7 separate regions of the Homo sapiens genome follow, and regions 1, 2, 3, 4, 5 and 6 are each linked to region 7. The links are contacts of gene promoters, found by promoter capture Hi-C in blood cells and fetal thymus (Javierre and others, 2016). All regions are on one chromosome and are shown on one strand. Each heading gives the region's core, a stretch centred on a gene start or on the middle of the fragment in contact. The rest is flanking DNA. Distances are from core to core; before and after follow the strand shown.

The links. The method cuts DNA at HindIII sites, captures the fragments that hold promoters and counts their contacts. A CHiCAGO score of 5 or more calls a contact.
Region 1: a contact is called between a fragment that was not itself captured here and the fragment with the promoter of AMN1 in region 7, in 4 of 17 cell types (total B cells, activated CD4 T cells, naive B cells and 1 more). The highest score is 6.7, in total B cells.
Region 2: a contact is called between a fragment that was not itself captured here and the fragment with the promoter of AMN1 in region 7, in 4 of 17 cell types (naive CD8 T cells, activated CD4 T cells, non-activated CD4 T cells and 1 more). The highest score is 5.7, in naive CD8 T cells.
Region 3: a contact is called between a fragment that was not itself captured here and the fragment with the promoter of AMN1 in region 7, in 3 of 17 cell types (activated CD4 T cells, total CD8 T cells and non-activated CD4 T cells). The highest score is 7.0, in activated CD4 T cells.
Region 4: a contact is called between a fragment that was not itself captured here and the fragment with the promoter of AMN1 in region 7, in 3 of 17 cell types (activated CD4 T cells, total CD4 T cells and naive CD8 T cells). The highest score is 9.5, in activated CD4 T cells.
Region 5: a fragment that was not itself captured here is called in contact with the fragment with the promoter of AMN1 in region 7 in 7 of 17 cell types (activated CD4 T cells, total CD4 T cells, naive CD4 T cells and 4 more); the score reaches 10.4 in activated CD4 T cells.
Region 6: a contact is called between a fragment that was not itself captured here and the fragment with the promoter of AMN1 in region 7, in 1 of 17 cell types (activated CD4 T cells). The highest score is 5.1, in activated CD4 T cells.

The regions. Positions count from the first base shown.
Region 1 is chr12:32,141,339-32,144,148 of GRCh38, forward strand. All of the region lies in intron 1 of BICD1 (BICD cargo adaptor 1), which reads left to right. Among named protein-coding and RNA genes, the nearest start is that of BICD1-AS1, 35 kb to the left of the region's middle. The HindIII fragment of the contact is 2,033 bases long and covers 517-2,549 here.
Region 2 is chr12:32,035,753-32,038,623 of GRCh38, forward strand. No RefSeq gene overlaps it. Among named protein-coding and RNA genes, the nearest start is that of BICD1, 70 kb to the right of the region's middle. The HindIII fragment of the contact is 6,204 bases long and covers 1-2,871 here.
Region 3 is chr12:32,053,228-32,056,177 of GRCh38, forward strand. No RefSeq gene overlaps it. Among named protein-coding and RNA genes, the nearest start is that of BICD1, 52 kb to the right of the region's middle. The HindIII fragment of the contact is 7,795 bases long and covers 1-2,950 here.
Region 4 is chr12:32,070,410-32,073,109 of GRCh38, forward strand. No RefSeq gene overlaps it. Among named protein-coding and RNA genes, the nearest start is that of BICD1, 35 kb to the right of the region's middle. The HindIII fragment of the contact is 839 bases long and covers 855-1,693 here.
Region 5 is chr12:32,103,403-32,106,102 of GRCh38, forward strand. It overlaps BICD1-AS1 (BICD1 antisense RNA 1), which reads right to left. Exons shown (of 3, transcript NR_185992.1): 2 at 1,274-1,371; 3 at 715-888. Among named protein-coding and RNA genes, the nearest start is that of BICD1, 2.1 kb to the right of the region's middle. The HindIII fragment of the contact is 3,383 bases long and covers 1-2,700 here.
Region 6 is chr12:31,314,956-31,317,798 of GRCh38, forward strand. The region is part of intron 1 of SINHCAF (SIN3-HDAC complex associated factor); the gene reads right to left. Among named protein-coding and RNA genes, the nearest start is that of FLJ13224, 7.9 kb to the right of the region's middle. The HindIII fragment of the contact is 2,530 bases long and covers 101-2,630 here.
Region 7 is chr12:31,727,679-31,730,378 of GRCh38, forward strand. AMN1 (antagonist of mitotic exit network 1 homolog) reads right to left here and starts at 1,343. Exons shown (of 7, transcript NM_001113402.2): 1 at 1,293-1,343. The coding sequence starts at 1,330. AMN1-AS1 (AMN1 antisense RNA 1) reads left to right here and starts at 1,587. Exons shown (of 1, transcript NR_198987.1): 1 at 1,587-2,700. It overlaps LOC105369722 (a long non-coding RNA gene), which reads left to right. Exons shown (of 3, transcript XR_931497.3): 3 at 979-1,212. RefSeq lists a silencer at 1,132-1,211 and enhancers at 1,262-1,611, 1,624-2,256, 1,652-1,851. The HindIII fragment of the contact is 3,446 bases long and covers 935-2,700 here.

The sequences.
Region 1 (2,810 bases), core at 283-2,782, 410 kb after region 7:
TGATGACTGCCTGTGACTAATTTGTGTTTTTGTTATTAAGCTAAGATTGTATGAAAAATATGGCAAAAACAAAATTCTATATTTCTAATGCCCCATGAGAAATCTGATTTAGAGGCCCTTCCTTTGGACACACTTTTTGTTTTGTTTTGTTTTTGAGCGGAGTCTTGCTCTGTCGCCCAGGCTGGAGTGCAGTGGTGCAATCTCGGCTCACTGCACCCTCCACCTCCTGGGTTCAAGCGATTCTCCTGCCTCAGCCTCCCGAGTAGCTCGGAGTACAGGCGCCCGCCACTACGCCCAGCTAATTTTTCTATTTTTAGTAGAGGTGGGGTTTCACCATGTTGGCCAGGCTGGTCTCAAACCCCTAACCTTAAATGATCCATCCGCCTCAGCCTCCCAAAGTGCTGGGATTACAGGCGTGAGCCACCGCGCCTGGCCTGGACACCCATTTTGAATAGCACTTACCACAGATTCCCGAAGCCAGTGGTTTTCTAGCCTTTTTATTCGCCGTTCGTTGTAAGCTTCTTGAGTCTTGGTGATTCTTGTTTCATTTGTTTTTGTTTCTCCCCAGAGCCTAGCACATAGTAGGTGACGAACAAATGTTCATCGAATGTATGGGCTCAACCATAGTCTATTTTTTTCAAAAAGGTATAAATCTTATCAATGTTTTACATTTTGCTGAACAAAACAGGAGAGAGCGGATTCTTTTCAAATAGGAAAAATTAGGGAGGGAAAAGAGGGATTGACTGAAACTCTATTGAAGTATGTCAACATAAAAGTTTATTGACAGCCTGGCGTGATGGCTCAGGCCTGTAATCCCAGCACTTTAGGAGGCCAAGGTGGGCGGGTCACTAGAGGTCAGGAGTTCGAGACCAGCCTGGCCAACATGGTGAAACCCCGTCTCTATTAAAAATACAAAAATTAGCCAGGTGTGGTGGCAGGCGCCTGTACTCTGAGCTACTGGGGAGGCTGAGACAGGAGAATCGCTTGAACCTGGGAGGCAGAGGTTGCAGTGAGCTGAGATCGTGTCACCACACTTCCAGCCTGGGCAAAAGAGTGAGACTCTGTCTAAAAAAAAAAAAAAAAAAAAAAAAAACAAAAAACCCCACCTATCTATCCTATCTATCTATCTATCTATCTATCTATCTATCTATTGGTCTATCTATCTAGATAAAAATAGCAGTCAACTAATTTTTCAAATTAAAAATGCTTTATTGTTATTTATAGCATGATTGTTTTTCTATAAAAAAGGCATATTACAACAGCCTTCGCTTCACATCTGACTCTTGCAGCATTCTTATAAAGAGATCTCACACCATATTTGAGGGCTTCATTAGTTTTCTAAGCCTTAAAAAAATTTCATCATTAAGATTATTCTCTCATGAAGCACCCAAAATATAGACAGCTTTTCTTATTTTCTTTTCTTCAATTGTTGACAGTCTAATGCTGCCAGATCTTTATCTGTCAGGGACTTTTGATGTTGTTGGAGCCATCTCTTGTGGACTTTATGAAATCTTGCATGCAGCACAATTTGAAACTTCATTGTGCATTCAATTTGCATTGCCTTTGCTGTGTTCACAGTGGCACTCCATGAGGCTTAACTATGGAGATCCTGGTGCTACAAGCCGTTAAATAGTTCTCTCTTCTCAACCTATTCCCCTATCCTGCTTTTCTTTTCTTCATAGCACTTATTACCTCCTGATTATATTTTTTGTTTGCCTTTTGTCTATCACCTGTCATTCTTTTACCAGACCATCTAGTCTCATATGTCTATATAACCTTTCTGAAAAACATCCTGTGGGAAATATACCATATATACAGAAAAAGTGCACAAACATGAATATACAGTTTAACAAATAATATAAACCTGCTATTCATGTAGCCACCACCCAGATGAAGGAAATAGAATATCATAAGCACCGCACAATCTCCATTTGTGCCCTTCTCCATCGTAGCTTTCTCTGTCCCAGACAACCATTGTCCACAACTTGTTGTAATAATTTACTTAATTTTCTTTTATAGTTTTATCACACATAATTTAGTTTTTGTCTGCTTTTTGAACTTTACATGAATGGAATAATATTGCATATATTATTTAATGCTTTTTCTTTCATTTAACATTTTTTTTTGTGTGTGTGTGAGATTCTCCAGGTTGTTGTACACAGTGCTAGTTATTTCATTTTGTTATGGTATAGTATCCCATTGTATGATTGTACCACAGTTTATCCATTTTTTAGTTGATGGGTTTTGACTTGCTTTCATTGTTTGGGCTATTATGAATAGTGCTGCTCTGCACCTGTTGTACATATAGCCTGGTGAACATGTTTGCGAATTTCTATGAGCGTGATCACGGTGGTGTAGAATTGCCAATCTTCAACCTGCCTGTATTTTCCAAAGCGATCATACCAATTTATTTACCTTCCAGCAGTGTATGAGAATTCTCTATTCTCACCATCATTGGATATTGTCAGATTTTAACATTTGGCTCAACTGATGGGTGTATAATGGTATCCTATGGTACTTATAATTTGCATTATCCCTAGTTACTAATAAGCTTGAGCAATTTTTCATATTTTTATTTCGATTTCCTAATTTATGAAATGCCTGTTTAAGTCTTCAGCCATTTCAAATGTTACCTGTCTTTTCAAAATGATCTATAGGAGTTCTTTGTATAATATATATTCTGGCCCCTAGTCCTTTATTCTTTGTATGTGTTGCAAATATCTTCATCTCTGCAGTTTACTCTTTTTGTGGTGTCCTTTGATAAAATTCTCAATTTGGTGAATGTAATTGAATTTATTAATTTTTCTCTT
Region 2 (2,871 bases), core at 161-2,660, 310 kb after region 7:
GAGCGAGACTCCATCTCAAAAAAAAAAAAAAGAAAGAAAAAGAAAAATTAAGTCTGAACTTTGAGTTTCTCAAGGAAGCTAATGATGCATGTATAAATTGCACAAAATATTTATCAACATTTACCATCCCCGGTGAAGGCTGTAGTAATATCATTGACTACATGAAAAAATAGAAGACACAAATTTGCTGAAGAAGAATCAGTGTCTACTTCAAATGATAATAATTCTTTTAAGCAGATCGTGCCTGAAAATGACAAGGTAACATATGCAGATGCAGAGGTGAATTTCCTTATCACTCTGTGAAGTACGCATCCCATTTAGGGCAAATGACAGCCTTTTTAAGTTAATTTTGCTCTTTTTTTTTTTTTTTTTTTTTTTTTTTTAGATGGAGTCTCGCGCTCTGTCGCCCAGGCTGGAATGCAGTGGTGCAATCTTGGCTCACTGCAACCTCCACCTCCCAGGTTGGAGCAATTCTTCTGCCTCAGCCTCCCGAGTTGCTGGGATTACAGGTGCCTGTCATCACGCCCGGCTAATTTTTGTATTTTTAGTAGAGACGAGATTTCACCATCTTGGCCAGGCTGGTCTTGAACTCCTGACCTCAAGTGATCCACCTGCCGTGGCCTCCCAAAGTGCTGGGATTACAGGCATGAGCCACCGTGCCTGGCCAAGAAAATTCTTAAGTTTCAAACCACTTGTGGTTTTGTTTTCTTTTTGGATGTTTTAGTTAGCTATGGATAAAATCTCCACAAGGTGTCCCTAAGCTACAGATATGAAAATGTCCTGCTCAGAACACCCTTGGGAGTCCCCATCCCCAAACTCCACTTAGGCAACTGATTAGTGAAATCCAATTAGATCCAGCATCTCTCCCAAGATACTTTGACTCCAGGTAAATTCAGGATGAATGGAGAGGAATGGCAGCTTCACTCACCACCACAAGGTGCTGCCTCCTGCTGTGTTCCAGACAGTCCCAAAGCCCCAGAAGCACAGCGCAGGGACTCCAGAGTGAGACTGAATGAAAACATATCCACACGTAAGTGCCACTCACACACTCTGTGTCCGGGGCGTGGAATAGGCCAGGAGAACCTTGGTCTGAAAATACGAAGAGCTCGTTTCTTCCTCTTAATCTATCACTAGTACCACAATACTGAGTTGAGATCATTATTGCTATATTACCTCAAGCCAATCATTAATGTCAATGGTATTAACTTTTTCTCATTTGTAAAAATGATCAAACTTGGTTTAAGATGTTCCGTATAGTCCCTTGAAATTACTTTTGTTTGTTTGTTCATATCTATCTATAAAAACAAGCTGATGTAGCATTTTTTGTTTTGTTTTGTTTTGTTTTTGAGACAAGGTCTCGCTCTGTCACCTAGGCTGGAGTGCAGTGACACGATCTCAGCTCACTACAGCTTCGACTTCCTGGGCTCAAGCAATCCTCCCATCTCAGCTTCCTGAATCTCTGGGGCTACAGGCTTATGCCATCATGCCCAGCTAATTTTCGTTGTTTTGGTTTTTGGTTTTTTGTTTTTTGAGACGGAGTCTCACTCTGTCGCCCAGGCTGGTGTGCAGTGGCGTGATCTCAGCTCATTGCAACCTCCACCTCCCGGGTTCACGCCATTCTCCTGGCTCAGCCTCCCAAGTAGCTGGGACTACAGATGCCCGCCACTACGTCCGGCTAATTTTTTTGTATTTTTAGTAGAGACGGGGTTTCACCTTGTTAGCCAGGATGGTCTCGATCTCCTGACCTCATGATCCGCCCACCTCGGCCTCCCAAAGTGCTGGGATTACAGGCGTGAGCCACTGCACCCGGCCTAATTTTTCATAGTTTTTTGTAGAGATAGGGTTTCGCCGTGTTGCCCAGGCTGGTCTCAAACCCCTGAGCTCAAGTGATTGGCTTGTCCTCCCAAAGTGCTGATTATAGGCGTGAGCCACTGCACCCGGCCATGTTTTTTCTTTATGCATACTTACCCTCTTTATTTCTTACTGGCTTACCTAAAATATGTGAAGAGGCTGCTTGCCAGGAGGTGAGAGAAACTGGAGGAGAGTGGTAATGCAATGAGTTTTGGATTTCTTTTTTTTTTTTTTTTTTTGAGGCCGAGTCTCAATCTGTCACCCAGGCTGGAATGCAGTGAGTGGTGCAATCTTGGGTCACTGCAACTTCTGCCTCCCAGGTTCAAGCGAATCTTCTGTCTCAGCCTCCCAAGTAGCTGGGATTACAGATGTGCACCACCACACCTGGCTAATTTTTGTATTTTTAGTAGACACGGGGTTTCGCCATATTAACTAGGCTGGTCTCGAACTCCTGACTTCAAGTGATCTGCTCGCCTTGGCATCTCAAAGTGCTGGGATTACAGGTGTTAGCCACTGCACCTGGCCGAGTTTTGTGTTTCAAATGCCAGACTTGGGACAGCTGAAGACTCCTCAGGTGATATGGACTACCAATAATACTGATTGGTAGGTAAATTGCGGGGATGGAACTAAGATCTCAAAGCCTGACCTGTAGCTATCTAAGACATTTAGTATCAACTGACTTCTTTCTTCCTTCCCTTCAGGTAACTATTAGGGATTTCCTAGGCCAGTTCTCAAAGAAACACAGCTTATCTTATGACCCAGGACACAGGCACACAGACACACATACGTGACTGAATTAATACTTAGCCTTACACCATTGCACTGTTTTATTTTCTTTCCTTTTCCTTTTCTTTTCTTTTTTTTTTTTTTTTTGAGACGGAGTCTTGCTCTGTGCCCAGCCCAGGCTGGAGTGCAGTGGCGCAATCTTGGCTCACTGCAAACTCTGCCTCCCGGGTTCACGCCATTCTCCTGCCTCAGCCTCCCGAGTAGCTGGGACTACAGGCACCCACCACCACGCCT
Region 3 (2,950 bases), core at 16-2,515, 330 kb after region 7:
TCTTGCCCAGGCTGGTCCCGAACTCCTGACCTTGTGATCTGCCTGCCCCGGCCTCCCAAAGTGCTGGGGTTACAGGTGTGAGCCACCGCGCCTGGCCAATTTTTGTATTTTTAAAAGAGACAGGTTTTGCCATTTGGCTAGGCTGGTCTTGAACTCCTGACCTCAAGTGATCTGCCCACCTCTGCCTCTCAAAATGCTGAGATTACAGGTGTGAGCCACCATACTTGGCCCCAATAAACCTTTATCAAATTATTTGTGCCCCAACAGCCTTAATTTTGGTAAACATGTCCTATACAGGTGTACCATTTTTTATCTTTTATACCATATTTTTACCGTACCTACTTATGTTTAGATACACAATTACTTACCATTGTGCTACAATTGCCTACAGTATTTAGCATACTAACACACTGTACAGGTTTGTAACCTAGGAGCAATTTGCTATTCCATATATAGTAGGCTGTATCATCTAGGTTTGTGTAAGCACACTCTATAAGGTTTGCACGAGGACAAAATCACCTCACGCATTTCTCCCTGCTGTTAAGCAATGTGTGACCTGTATCTGTCCCACCAACAGAAGTTATTTGCATTTCTTCCTGACAAAAATCTTCAAGTTAACAAGTAATTTCACGAATTCTGGGACCCTTAATCAATAGTAAATAATGGGATAAACTTTACGTTACTATGATCCTCTGGCTGAATCCAGCCCACATATTTTGTAAATAAAGTTTTGTTGGAGCCCAGCCTATTTCTTCCTTTGCTTATTGTCCATGACTGCTTTTGTGCCACAATGGCAGTCCTGAGTACACACAGCAGAGATTCTAAAGTCCACAGATTTAGACTTGAGTTCTCAACACAGAAATCCTAAAGCTCACAGTAGAGACAGGGTTTCTACCTGACTCAGAGCCTGAGAAATTTACTATGACTTAGAGCCTGAGAAATTTACTATGTGAACCTTTACATGCTGGGGAAAGCCTGAGGGTCATGACCAACTCAGCACTCCACTGGAGGCTATATGATAAAAGAGCAAACTGTTTATCACGAATGCAGGATGTGGGGAAACTCACATCTGCACCTGCCACCAGAAGGTATGCTGAGGGCAATCACTCCCTGGCGCCGTGCTCCTTGAGGTTATCTACTGGAACATCTGGAGCCTACTGTTCAAAGAAAGCAGTTATGCAGGCCTGCACTAAGTGAAACAGCTGACTGACAACCACCCCCTCCTCATTATTTCCTTTACTCAATAAATACAAAGGGCTATAGAAGCTCAGAGCCCTTGTTCACTAGAAGCAAGGAGACCCCTGACCCCTTCTTCCAAATATACTTGTTTGTCTTTGTCTTTATTCCCGCATTCGTCCTCCTTTGTTCAGTCCACCAGGGTCCGTGGCACAGTGGAGCCTGAGGGTTGTGACCAACTTTTACAAATAAAGTTCGTTGGCCCTCACTCTAGACAACCCTATGATGATCTTTGCCACTGCATGAAAGTGAAATTGTCAGAAGCATGTGAACCAGAGCAACTCCATCTTGAATAGGGGCTGGGTAAAATGAGGCTGAGACCTACTGAGCTGCATTCCCAGATGGTTAAGGCATTCTAAGTCACAGGATGAGGTAGGAGGTTGGCACAAAATACAGGTCTTAAAGACCTTGCTGATAAAACAGACTGCAGTAAAGATGCCAGCTAAAACCCAACAAAACCAAGATGGCAACAAGAGTGTCCTCTGATTGTCCTCTCTGCTACACTCCGTCCAGTGCCATGACAGTTTACAAATGCCATGGCAACGTCAGGAAGTTACCCTATGTGGTCTAAAAAGGGGAAACATGAATAATCCACCCCTTGTTTAGCATATCATCAATAAATAACTATAAAAATGGGCAACCAGCAGCCCTCGGGGCTGCTCCGTTCATGAAGTAGCCATTCTTTTATTCCTTTACTTTCCTAATAAACTTGCTTTCACCGTACTCTACTGACTTGCCCTGAATTCTTTCTTATGCAAGATCCAAGAACCCTCTCTTGGGATCTGGATCAGGACTCCTTTCCTGTAACAAAAGGATGTGCTATTTAGCTTTTTGCCTTATTTCCAAGTTTTGCATACTTTTTCTGACCAACACTTGAGAACCTTTAATATATAGTTTTTCTGTTTCCATTGTCTTCAGTTCCAATTGTCTTTTGGTTCCAATTCTCTAAGTTTTAATTCAACCAGTGTTTACTGAACACATACTATGTACCAGAAGCTACTGCAATGAATGGAACCTAGCCCTCACCTTCACATTTTGTGAGGAAATCAAATGTGTGACTGTGAAGGGTTCTTCTTTTAGATAACTCTTTTTTTTTTTTTTTTTTTGAGACAGAGTCTCACTCTGTCGCCCAGGCTGGAGTGCAGTGGCACGATCTCAGCTCACTGCAAGCTCCATCTCCCGGGTTCACACCATTCTCCTGCCTCAGCCTCCTGAGTAGCTGGGATTACAGGCGCCTGCTACCATGCCCAGCTAATTTTTTGTATTTTTAATAGAGACGGGGTTTCACCGTGTTAGCCAGGATGGTCTGGATCTCCTGACCTCGTGATCTGCCCTCCTTGGCCTCCCAAAGTGCTGGGATTACAGGCGTGAGCCACCGTGCCTGGCCAAGAGGAGAACTGTAAGTCCAATCTAAGGAAGATATCCTAGATATGCGAAGATTGAAGGCAGGGGAGAAAGAGAAATAAGACATGTTAATAGTTGCTAGAGGGAAACATGTGAATTTGTTTTGGGGACTCTTTGGTTTTAAGAAAATCACTTTGGCCAGACACGGTGGCTCACACCTGTAATCCCAGCACTTTGGGAGGCTGAGGTGGGCGGATCATGAGGTCAGGAGCTTGAGACCAGCCTGACCAACATGGTGAAACCCTGTCTCTACTAAAAATACAAAAAAATTAGCCGAGCATGGTGGTGTGTCCCTGTAATCCCAGCTACT
Region 4 (2,700 bases), core at 24-2,523, 340 kb after region 7:
ATATTTCCTCCTAGTGTTACCTAACTTTTTCCTCTATCTTCTATTTTTCTTGTAGACTACAGGCTTGAATAGATTCAGGTTTAAGGTTTTGCTTTGTATTGCTTAGTTTATGACTACTTCATAGGTGGTGCTGTATGCTTCCTATTGCCTCATATTCAAAAGCATGCAATAGCTGGTTGTTTCACTTACAGTGGCTGCTAAGATGGATCAGCGAGTTCAAGTGGTGGCATCAACCTTTTTACCTAATGATTTTGTCATCTATTGATAACCAGTATTTAAGTCATTTTATTAGGAGCTACAAAATGTTGACTTTCTAATACTACATTTATTATCTGTAATTATTCTATATAGAACTCTTATCTAGTAGGGTTATTTGATTTCCAGGAAATACTGTTCATACTGGAAAGGTGATATAAAATCTCGGTTCTTTCCCCTTAATTATCAGTTTTTGGAGTAATGAGTTGGTGCACAGCAACCTTTGCTCGATTCATTCACTATGGCGTGTTTGTTCTTTCCTCTTTAAAAAAATTATGACTTTTTATTATTTATATATTTGTTTATCTACTTGAGACAGGGTCTCACTCTGTCACCCAGGCTGGAGTGCAGTGGTGCGAACACAACTCACTGTAGCCTCAATCTCCTGGGCTTAAGCAATCTTCTCACCTCAGCCCCCAGAGTAATATTTTTATTTATTTTAATCAATTGAAATAATAATTCTTCTTGATGTTCAAATCATCTTATCTTTGACCAAAAGGACCCTCTTCAAGCTGGCTTATGGAATTTTTTGTTATTTGATGTGTCCCATCATTAGCCTTTGATAATGTTTTTACTTTCTGGGGCAACAAGCTGTTCCAAGCTTATTTTTCTTCCTTTTCTTTTTTTTTTTCCAATTTTATTTTGTACTTTTTCCGCCCTGGACCTGGTTTAGGTGTGGTGCTTTTAATGAAAAATGGTATGAATTTCAGCTATTCTAATTGTGGATAGTGATATTTCATTGTGGTTTTAATTTGCGTTTCTCTGATGACTAATGATTTTGAGCATCTTTCCATGTGCTGATTGATCATTCATATATCTTCTTTGGTAAAAGCATCTATTCACTGGGAGGCGGAGGTTGCCATGAGCCGAGATACACCACTGCACTCCAGCCTAGGGGACACAGCAAGACTCTGTCTCAAAAAAAAAATAAAAAGTGTCTGTTCAAATCTTTCACTCATTTTAAGAAAATGGGTTGTCATTTTTTTCCTATGGAACAGAATTTATTGGATAGTAGCATTTTAGGAAAAATATAAGCTCTACTATATATATATATAAATCTATATAGATAGATAGATAGATAGATACAATCAACTGTAAAGTCCATCTCAACTTCAGAAAATGTAAAGACATGTCCATCTTAGAAATGAAGAAATGGCTTCCTTGCAAGTTTGCAAGAACATTAGTGACATAATGTATAAAGTACTTAACATAAGTGTTCAAAGGGTAACTGTTGTTACTATTATCAACTGTATTAATTAAACTGTTTTGAGATTTAACACACATGTTACAGACTTTAAGAAAGCAGCTGAGTGCAGGTTTTTTGTTTTAGTTTTGCGTTTATGCCAATGTGAAAATATGAACAGCTCAGTTCTACATTCTGTTCCCTGAAAATACCACGAGAGCTATTAGACAGTCTTGAAAGGCAGTATCTAACATAAGCTTTGTGTGTTCATGGATATTTGTTCAATAATAACATTTAAATAATGAGGGAGGCCACTTCTAAAGACTTATCATTTACCTGATCTACACAATATCTAGCATAGGACCAGTTCTCAATTGACGGCAAACAGTCCCAGCAGGTCACTTCATTTTGAACAGACATTGCAATTGCACTTGAGAAATCATGCCAAGTTTTGCAGGGATTGTCCTTGGACTTGTCACCACGAAGACATAACTCATGCTATTTACATATTATAGCATTTTCTTTCTTTTTTTTTTTGAGACGGAGTCTCACTCTGTTGCCCAGGCTGGAGTGCAGTGGTGCGATCTCTGCTCACTGCATGTTCTGCCTCCCGGGTTCACGCCATTCTCCTACCTCAGCCTCCTGAGTAGCTAGGACTACAGGCGCCCGCCACCACACCCAGCTAATTTTTTGTATTTTTAGTAGAGACGGAGTTTCACCATGTTAGTCAGGATGGTCTCAATCTCCTGACCTCGTGATCTACCCGCCTCAGCCTCCCAAAGTGCTGGGATTACAGGCATGAGCCACCGTGCCGGGCTATTATAGCATTTTCTAGACTAGTTCAATCTGCAATGTCCTTGCACTGACCAGGGCTCCATTTCCTTTATCAGAGGGCTATGATGGAAATGATGTGGAGTTCACCTGGCTGAGACGGAATGACTCTGTGCATGGGCTGGAAACCCTGTGGCTTGCTTAGTACACCATACAATGGTATTTCACCTTGGACACCAGATTGCAGCAGGAGACAGGTAACTCATGTGACAATTTTTTTTTTTTAATTTTTACCATTGTTTTCGTAGATATTCCTAGGCCAGTTCTAAGAGTTTGTTTCTTGGGAGATTAGTGCTGGAGGCCAGAAGTCTGAGATCAAGGTTGGTTTTTTCTGAGGCCTCTCTCCTTGGCTTGGAAACAGCCGTTTTCTCGGTGTCTTCACATGGTCTTTTGCTCTGTACCTGTCCAAATTTCCTTTTCTTATAAGGACA
Region 5 (2,700 bases), core at 6-2,505, 380 kb after region 7:
TGCCTCAGCCTCCCGAGTAGCTGGGATTACAGGCGCCCACCACCACACCCAGCTAATTTTTGTATTTTTAGTAGAGATGGGGTTTCACCATGTTGGTCGGGCTGGTCTCGAACTCCTGACCTCAGATGATCCGCCCACCTCGGCCTCCCAAAGTACTGGGACTACAGGTGTAAGCCACCGAGCCTGGCCTTTTTTTCTTTTCTTTTGGTGAGTCTTGCTTTGTCACCAGGCTAGAGCACAGTGGCACAATCAGTACATTGCAGCCTTAATCTCTTGGGTTCAAGCCATCATACTGCCTCAGCCTCCTAAGTATTGGGGACCACAGGCATGTATTACCATGCCCAGCTAGTATTTTTTAATTTTTTGTAGCCATGAGGTCTCGCTATGTTGCCCAGGCTGGTCTTGAACTGCTGGCCTCAAGTGACCCTTCTGCCTCAGCCTCCCAAAGTGCTAGGATTACCAGTATGAGCCACCACACCCAGCCTAGGAATGCTTTAAGAAATTATTTTCTATATACCTGTCATTGATATATATGCAATACATATGGCATATACGAAAAAAGAGGGAACTGTAACTATGCAGTACTGGAACAGCATGGTGTATAGGAAAATAAATTTGGCTGGGCATGGTGGCTCACATCTGTAATCCCAGAACTTTGGGAGGCCAGGGTGGGAGGATCACTTGATCCCAGGAGTTTGAGACCAGCCTGGGCAACATAGACAGACCCTGTCTCTACAAAAATTTAAAAAATTAGCTGAGTGTGGTGGTATTCATCTGTAGTTCCAGCTACTCAGGAGGCTGAGGTGGGAGGATCGCTTGAGTCCAGGAGGTTGAGGCTGCAGGGAGTCATGATCATGCCACTCCACTCCAGCCTAAGTGATGGAGACCCTGTCTCAGAAAAAAAGAGAAAAAAAACAAGAAAATAAGTTTATCTTCTTTACGTTAAATACCAACATTTAAGGATCAAAGTTCAACTAAGCAACATCTTAAAGTGTCAGAGTGTGCAAGACATGCCTGAAATCAGACAAAAGTGACAAGTGACAAAAGTGTATCAATCAGAAAAACGGGGCAGGATAGAGCATAGGGGCTGGACCACAATGGAAATTTAGCAAAAAGGAAAGTCACAGAGGCAAACTCTGTTCTTAGTTTGATCCAAAGGAGAGGGAGGCACAGGCAATCTAGTGCGAGTCTTATGATCCCTTTGGAAGGCCTATGCTTACAGTTTGTAGAGTGAGGAACAGCCAGAGGCTTCCTGGGAAGGCAGGTTAGCTACCTGCAATTGCAGGTTCCATCTCTTTTCAGCAGTTCATCATCATTCATCAACGTGTCAGAGGTCAGATGCCACGGGAGCACACAGGAGGGGCTTCCCACCTGGAGTGCGAGATAAGGAAAGATGGGTCGGATGTTGTAGTCATTATCATCCGCTTCTCTACAAGGCTGGAATTTATGGTGGCTGCACATTTGGAATGTTTTCTCCTTTTATTTATTTATTTTTAGATCAGACAATCACAAGAGAATATTCTTTTGTTTTATTTTTAGATCAGACAATCACATGAGAATATTCTGTTGTGATCGCTGGCGTTTAGAAGGAAACTTGTCTGGTTTGTGAAGCAATGGAAAACACATCCAGACAGCCTGCTAGTGGAAACTTTGGAAGGGCACTGTCATATGCTTTTTCTCCCACGCCATCAACAAGTGTCCTTTTTTTTTTTTTTTTTTGAGATGGAGTCTCTGTTGCCTAGGCTGGAGTATAGTGGTGCCATCTGTACCCTCCACCTCCTGGATTCAAGCAATTCTCCTGCCTCAGCCTCCCAAGTAGCTGGGATCACAGGCGTGCACCACCATACCTGGCTAATTTTTGTATTTTTAGTAGAGATGGGATTTCACCATGTGGGCCAGGCTAGTCTTGAACTCCGGACCTCAAATGATCCATCCACTTCTGCCTCCCAAAGTGCTGGGATTATAGGCGTGAGCCACTGTGCCCGGTCAACAATCATCTTTTTTTTTTTTTTTTTTTTTTTTACCAGGTACACAATGATGGGAGAGTTGAGTCCTGCTTTCTAACTTAGAAAACGCATGTGTGTTCATCACCTGGTCACTGAGAAACAGCTCTGGAATAGGTGCCATGCAGAAGAAGAGAGGGAACTGGAAAGACCCACTGATCTGTGGGTCTCACAGCCTCCCGTTACACAGAAATTGCTTCTTTTCTCTCATGTTGCGTTCTTCCTCTTGATTCTCGACCCTTCTCCACTCTTTCATTTACTCCACTCTTACTTTGCTTTCACCTCCTTTTGTAACCGTTCATCATCACTCTTCATATGGATTAATGTGATTATCTTAAAAGCATGTAATATGTAGTTGCTGGGTTTGTATGAGTAATGAGTGAACCTGAAGCCAACATAATGATCCCGTTTAGTGCTCCCGAGTTAAGATTCCAGAGTTGCCTGACTTTGGACAAATCACATCTCCCTTTGCCTTTCACCCCCTGTAAACTGAGGATAATGGCTCTTACCTCAAAGCATTGTTAGGATTGGAGAGAACGCATGTTACATACTTAGAAGAATGCTTGGTATGGGTCTCAAGAACTCTTAGCTCTTATTGTTTAAAAAATGCTTATTACAGGGCATCGTTGGTATCTTATATAGGGAATTTCAAGCAGTTTTCCTTTATTGAAGACACAGAGTAAGGTGCTTTGATGGA
Region 6 (2,843 bases), core at 116-2,615, 410 kb before region 7:
CGATTTAGAGGATTTGTTCTCCATAATTTTTAATACCTTCTCATTAGATTGACTAAGTCAGGAGGTGTTCTGAATCTGAATGTGCTGCTTGCAAACACAAAGCTTGAGGATGCGCACCCAGGAAGCACAAGTTCCAGTAGCTTATTACCTGTGCTCTGAAGTAGACTGCATGAGGCACAGTCTTTATATATTTTTTAAACAGGAAAATATGTGCGGTATGGTGAAGCAATAGTTGAGAATTTGGTTCATATTCAGTGATGTTATGCCTAAAGTCAAGTAAATATGTGGTTGAGTGGGTAGAAGAGAAAAGTTAATAATTGTGTAGGCACCTTAGGGTCTGGTGGAAGGATGATTGATTCCATCCTGCCTTTGTTCTGTATCTGATAAACAAGTTTACAACCAGTATCTGTCAGTAAAATATTTAACAAACTCCAGTTACAAACCCAAGGGGTCAGCTTTAGTTTGTAGGCAGTGGTTTAATTATGCATATGTCCAAACTGCAGCCATCTTGGACCAGTTTTATCTTTTCTTCTGACACCATCTATCATCATCTATCTGTCTACAGTATGCTGTCTGAAGTTTCTTCAAATAGGACAAACATTTTGAGAAGTTCCTCAGGATTTGAAAGGTTACAGTTAAAACATGCCTATTTATGGGAGTTTGTAACGCTTATCTCTGACATAGCTGTTTTTGCAATATACACACATTCCTGGGCCAGAAAGAAATTTAGAGGAGGACTGTGTTGATCAGTTTTTTCTTTTATTTGCTTTCACAGGTGTAATAAATGTGTTGCTTAAATTTTAAGTTGTCATTTGTATAGCACTTTACATTTTATAAAGCACTTTCACTGGCATTCTTTCTTTGACTACTATTAGCCAAAAACCCAAAAATTGTTTTAATACTGTAACAGTTAAAAACAATCAACCATGGCCGGGCGTGGTGGCTCAAGCCTATAATCCCAGCACTTTGGGATGCCAAGGTGGGTGGATCACCTGAGGTCAGGAGTTTGAGACCAGCCTGACCAACATGACGCAACCCTGTCTCTACTAAATATAAAAAAATTTGCCAGGCGTAGTAGTGGCAGACGCCTGTAAATCTCAGCTACTCAGGAGGCTGAGGCAGCAGAATTGCTTGAACCCGGGAGGCAGAGTATGCAGTGAGCCGAGATTGTGCCACTGCACTCCAGCCTTGGGGACAAGAGCAAAAATTCATCTCAAAAATAAAAAATAAAAAAAAAACCATGCCATAATTATAGCTCTGACCAAATAAACTGAATATCCCAAAGTTAAAAAAGATTAAAGGTAATAGCTAAGTCAGCAAAAGCAATTTAAAAAGATAACTAATTATATGGACAATATATATAAACAAAAAAATAAAGTTTTAAAACACAACAATCAATTCTAAACATCTGTTTTGGCTGATTTGTAGGGTTTTCTTCTACTTTAAAGCTGTGGGTTTCATATAAATTTAATGATCTTAATGAATCTAACTTAATGAATCTAACCTTGGTGCTGATGAGTCAAGAAAGGGATGAGATAACCACAATATATCAAAGACACAAAAGGGACAATTCTAATCCCATCTAATGAAATTGGGAAGCCAAAGATCAAGAATAACGTCTAATTTTACATCTAATTAAACACATAAGTTTACTGAATATAATAATATACATAGGAAAGAAAAAGAGTTTCACAGCGATAGTTTATATTAAAGACGCTATTTAAGAAAAGTTTTCTGATAAATAAGATTAAAGATTATCTCTTATAAATCTCAGCAATACTAAATACTTGTTCATTTTAAGCTCCAACCAGGAAACAGAATGAAAAATACTGAAATGCAAATTTTAGAGCTTTAGTACCCTTTTTAATATGGAATAGGAGACAGAGAAAAGGTGATGAATTTAATTCAACTATTTTCTTGTCTTTTTAAATCTTTATAAGGGTGTTAACTCACATTTAAGGATATGGAGAGGGTTCTTATTACGATGAATTTAACATATGTTAAGTTCACCTTAGTTGGCATGCATGCTTTGAAGGACATCATTATTTACTCTAACTTCCCCAATTCCACTTTCTAGATTCCTTCTTCTGGCTTTTTTATATATTCAGAAGTAAAGCGTTTTTTAATATTCAAAAGTACCTTTCAAAACTCAGTAATACCACTGGGTGGACTAGATGGAAGAAAATTGAGAGCAATAGTCAAACGTGGTAAATAACAGTTAACTTCACAACTGTCCAAGTCATCTTGGGAACTGAAATTCTGATATGCACAAATTAGGGGAACAACCTCCCAAATGAAACTATCCTTAAGTTTCCAATAAACCAAAACCCTAGCTTCTAATTATCATTTTTTTCTTTCTAAAAATCAACTGGCCTAAGTCTTTAAAAACAAAAAAAAAACACAAGATAGTTGAAGTGACTTAAATGTCAACGAATTTTCAGACTGGTTAAATTATGGTTGAAACACCACAGCACGCTGTTTCAACCTTTAAAGCAAGTTGAACAGTAGTAATACAGTATAATCTCACAGGATGTTTTTAAAATGAGACTGTAACTACACAAACTTCTTTTTAAATTGGTTCTTAAAAATAGTAAATAGTGGTTGCCTCTGAGGAGTACAAGCATAAAAGAAGCTTACTTTCACTTTACTACCTCCTGCTTTTTTTTTTTTAACCAAGAGCATCACTCTCCAATAACCTTGGTTATCAAGACACACCTTAAGAGTAATCTAAAAAAGCACAGAGAGCTTAAATAAACTTCCTCAAAGACATACAGATGGAGAGATACAAATTAGAAAATACACTCCATGGGAGAGACTACGAAATAGACTGGTAAGATCTAAAT
Region 7 (2,700 bases), core at 93-2,592:
TCAAAAGTTTGTTACTCTCCCGCTTGTGATATTATTCTACATATATTATAGTTATTTATTTTATTTTTTTGAGACAGTCTCGCTCTGTCGCCTAGCAGCCTAGGCGTGCAGTGGCGCGATCTCAGCTCACTGCAACCTCTGCCTCCTGGGTTGAGGCGATTCTCCTGCCTCAGCCTCCAGAGTAGCTGGGACTACCGGCGCCACTACTACTCCTGGCTAATTTTTGTATTTTTAGTACATGCCGCGGTTTTGCCGTGCTGGCTAGGCTGGTCTCCAACTCTCCTGATCTCAAGTGCCTCGGCCTCCCAAAGTGCTGGGATTACAGGCGTGAACCACCGTGCCCAGATAATTTTTGTATCTTTAGTAGAGGCGGGGTTTCGCCACGTTGCCCAGGCTGGTCTCGAACTCCTGAGCTCAAGCAGTTCTCCCACCTCGGCCTCCCAAGTTTAATGTAAAATATCAGATGCCATTGTTTCAGAAAGCCTTCAGTAGATTAAGGAGATTGTTCTCCTTATCCTTAAGATGTCTATTTTTTACATGGCAATATTAACGGACTGAAAGCTCCTGGAGAGACGCAATTGCCCTTGTAACTTCCATTTCCGTACAATTTCTGGTAGGAAATAATAATAACAATAACACTTAGTGGTGTTTATTATTTGCTGGGCATCCTTATAAGGGTTTTACATGTTTTAAATTTATCCCTCAGGACAACTCCATGTGATGGGTGCTATTATCACAAAAATTTTATAGATAAAGAACCTAGGCACAGGGAGAGGTTACGTTACCGGTCCATGGTCACGTGGCTGGTGAATGGCAGAGCCGGGGGCTGAACCCAGCAATCTCAGCCAGGGATCCGTGGTCTTAACCACTTTGTTACCTTTATCCCAGGGTCTGTCAATGTTTATTCCAGTTACAGGGGTGGAATTCTGCTAGAAGCTTTTGAGAACCTCATCTAGCGTTGTGTTTTTTTCTACCAAGGCTTTTAGCTGCTAAGAGAGAGGCCACTGCCAGTAACAGCCGGGGCGCCGAGCTGTCAAGGCTGACGGAGGAATGGACGCTCATCGCGCAGCGGAGTGTTGGAGGGGCAAGCCCGCCAAGAGACCCACTTTGCACAACTGTCCTCAGCCAGGAAACGACAGATCAGGAACCCAGGGACAGAAACACACGCGGGGCCTCTTCAGAGGTCGGCGGGGGGGGTGGGAAAGGGGCGGGGAGGAAGAGCAGCGCAGGGCCTGGCCGTTTGGAGGAGGTGCTGGGGCGGCGCGAAGGGAGGCGGGACAGGGTAGACTCACAGATCCAGGAGCTGACTGACCCGCCGTGGGCGAGGCATCGCTGCAGCGTCTGAAGCCTCTTCCGCGGTCCCAGGGCCTCCAGAACCCAGCCAGGGACCGTCCGCCAACTCCCGCCCACCGCGCGACGCGTAGGTTTTTGTGACGTCACACGGATTTTTCCGGTGACCGGGGCGTGGCCACGCTTCGGACTCCACAAGGAAAGAAGAGAGCCCCCTTTGGGGCGGAGCCACTGAGGGCTGCGCGGAAGAGGCTGGGTGTGATAAACTATAAAGAGGCCCTAAACTCGGATGCAACGTGACGGGAGTTGTAGTTCTTTCACCTGGCGGGCGTCTGCTCCGGTTCAGCTGCAGGAGGTTTCTTGGGAGTTCAGCCCAGCGCGCAGCCCCGCCGCGACGCCGCGAGCCGAGAACTCTCCTGGGGCGAAGGGAGCGCTGAGAAGTCGCTACTCTTACTAAAAGGATGCGTTGGATGCTGGGCCATACCCTTGGCGATGCACACTGGAGACCCGCTCGGATACGGACTCCATTAACATCAAACGGAGCGTGTTAGAGGATCCGAGTTTACTGAGCACTTTCTAGGAAGCGTGCACTGAGCTACGTGCTTTCTAGGCCTTAGTTCAATACTTAACCATATTCATTATAATCCGGTGAAATCGTAATTATTTAGCCTTATTTTACAGATGAGGACACTGCGTACCAACAAGTAACCTCACTAAGAATTTCGTCATGGAGGAGAAGGGAACCTGTATTCAAATTAGGAAGGATCCTGAAGAAAGGGCACCTTTAGGTGGAATTTTATCTTTGGTTCTGCTGCAGAGTACTTGCTGCTTTTTAGTGCTCCCTCCACCCCCCTCATTCTTCCTTGTAGATTAGTCTGTTGTTTGTATGCTGAGTTCCTTTTTTAAGCTCCTTGAAAGTTGGAACCCACTGCTGTTGCCTGTTCAGGATGCTACACATTGAATCAACATGGATTTATTAAGCGCTGAACGAGGGCTAGGGATCGTGCTGGGTGCTGAGGATTGAGTGGCGAACACTTGGGTCAGACAAGTAAAAGGGCAATTAGAATAACTGTTAAATGCTTAGATGGGGTTAGTTCTATGGAAGCACCCATGGGGGTGGGATACAGATCAGAGAGAAAAGGGTGGTCTGCAAATAGTTTGGGATGGCTACACTGGAGAGTGATCAAGAGTGAGTGTAGGGCAGGGGTTGGCCGACTTTTTCCATAAAGTGCTCTGAAAGTTGCAGATTCCAGGAGAAGTAACTATTGTCAGACCCAGACAAATTGGAGCCTAGAGACCAGAAAGGAAGGAAACTCATGCTTGTATGTCTGAGATAAGAACTGTCTCAAGGCCAGACGCGGTGGCTCACACCTGTAATCCTAGTACTTTGGGAGGCCGAGGCGGGCGGAT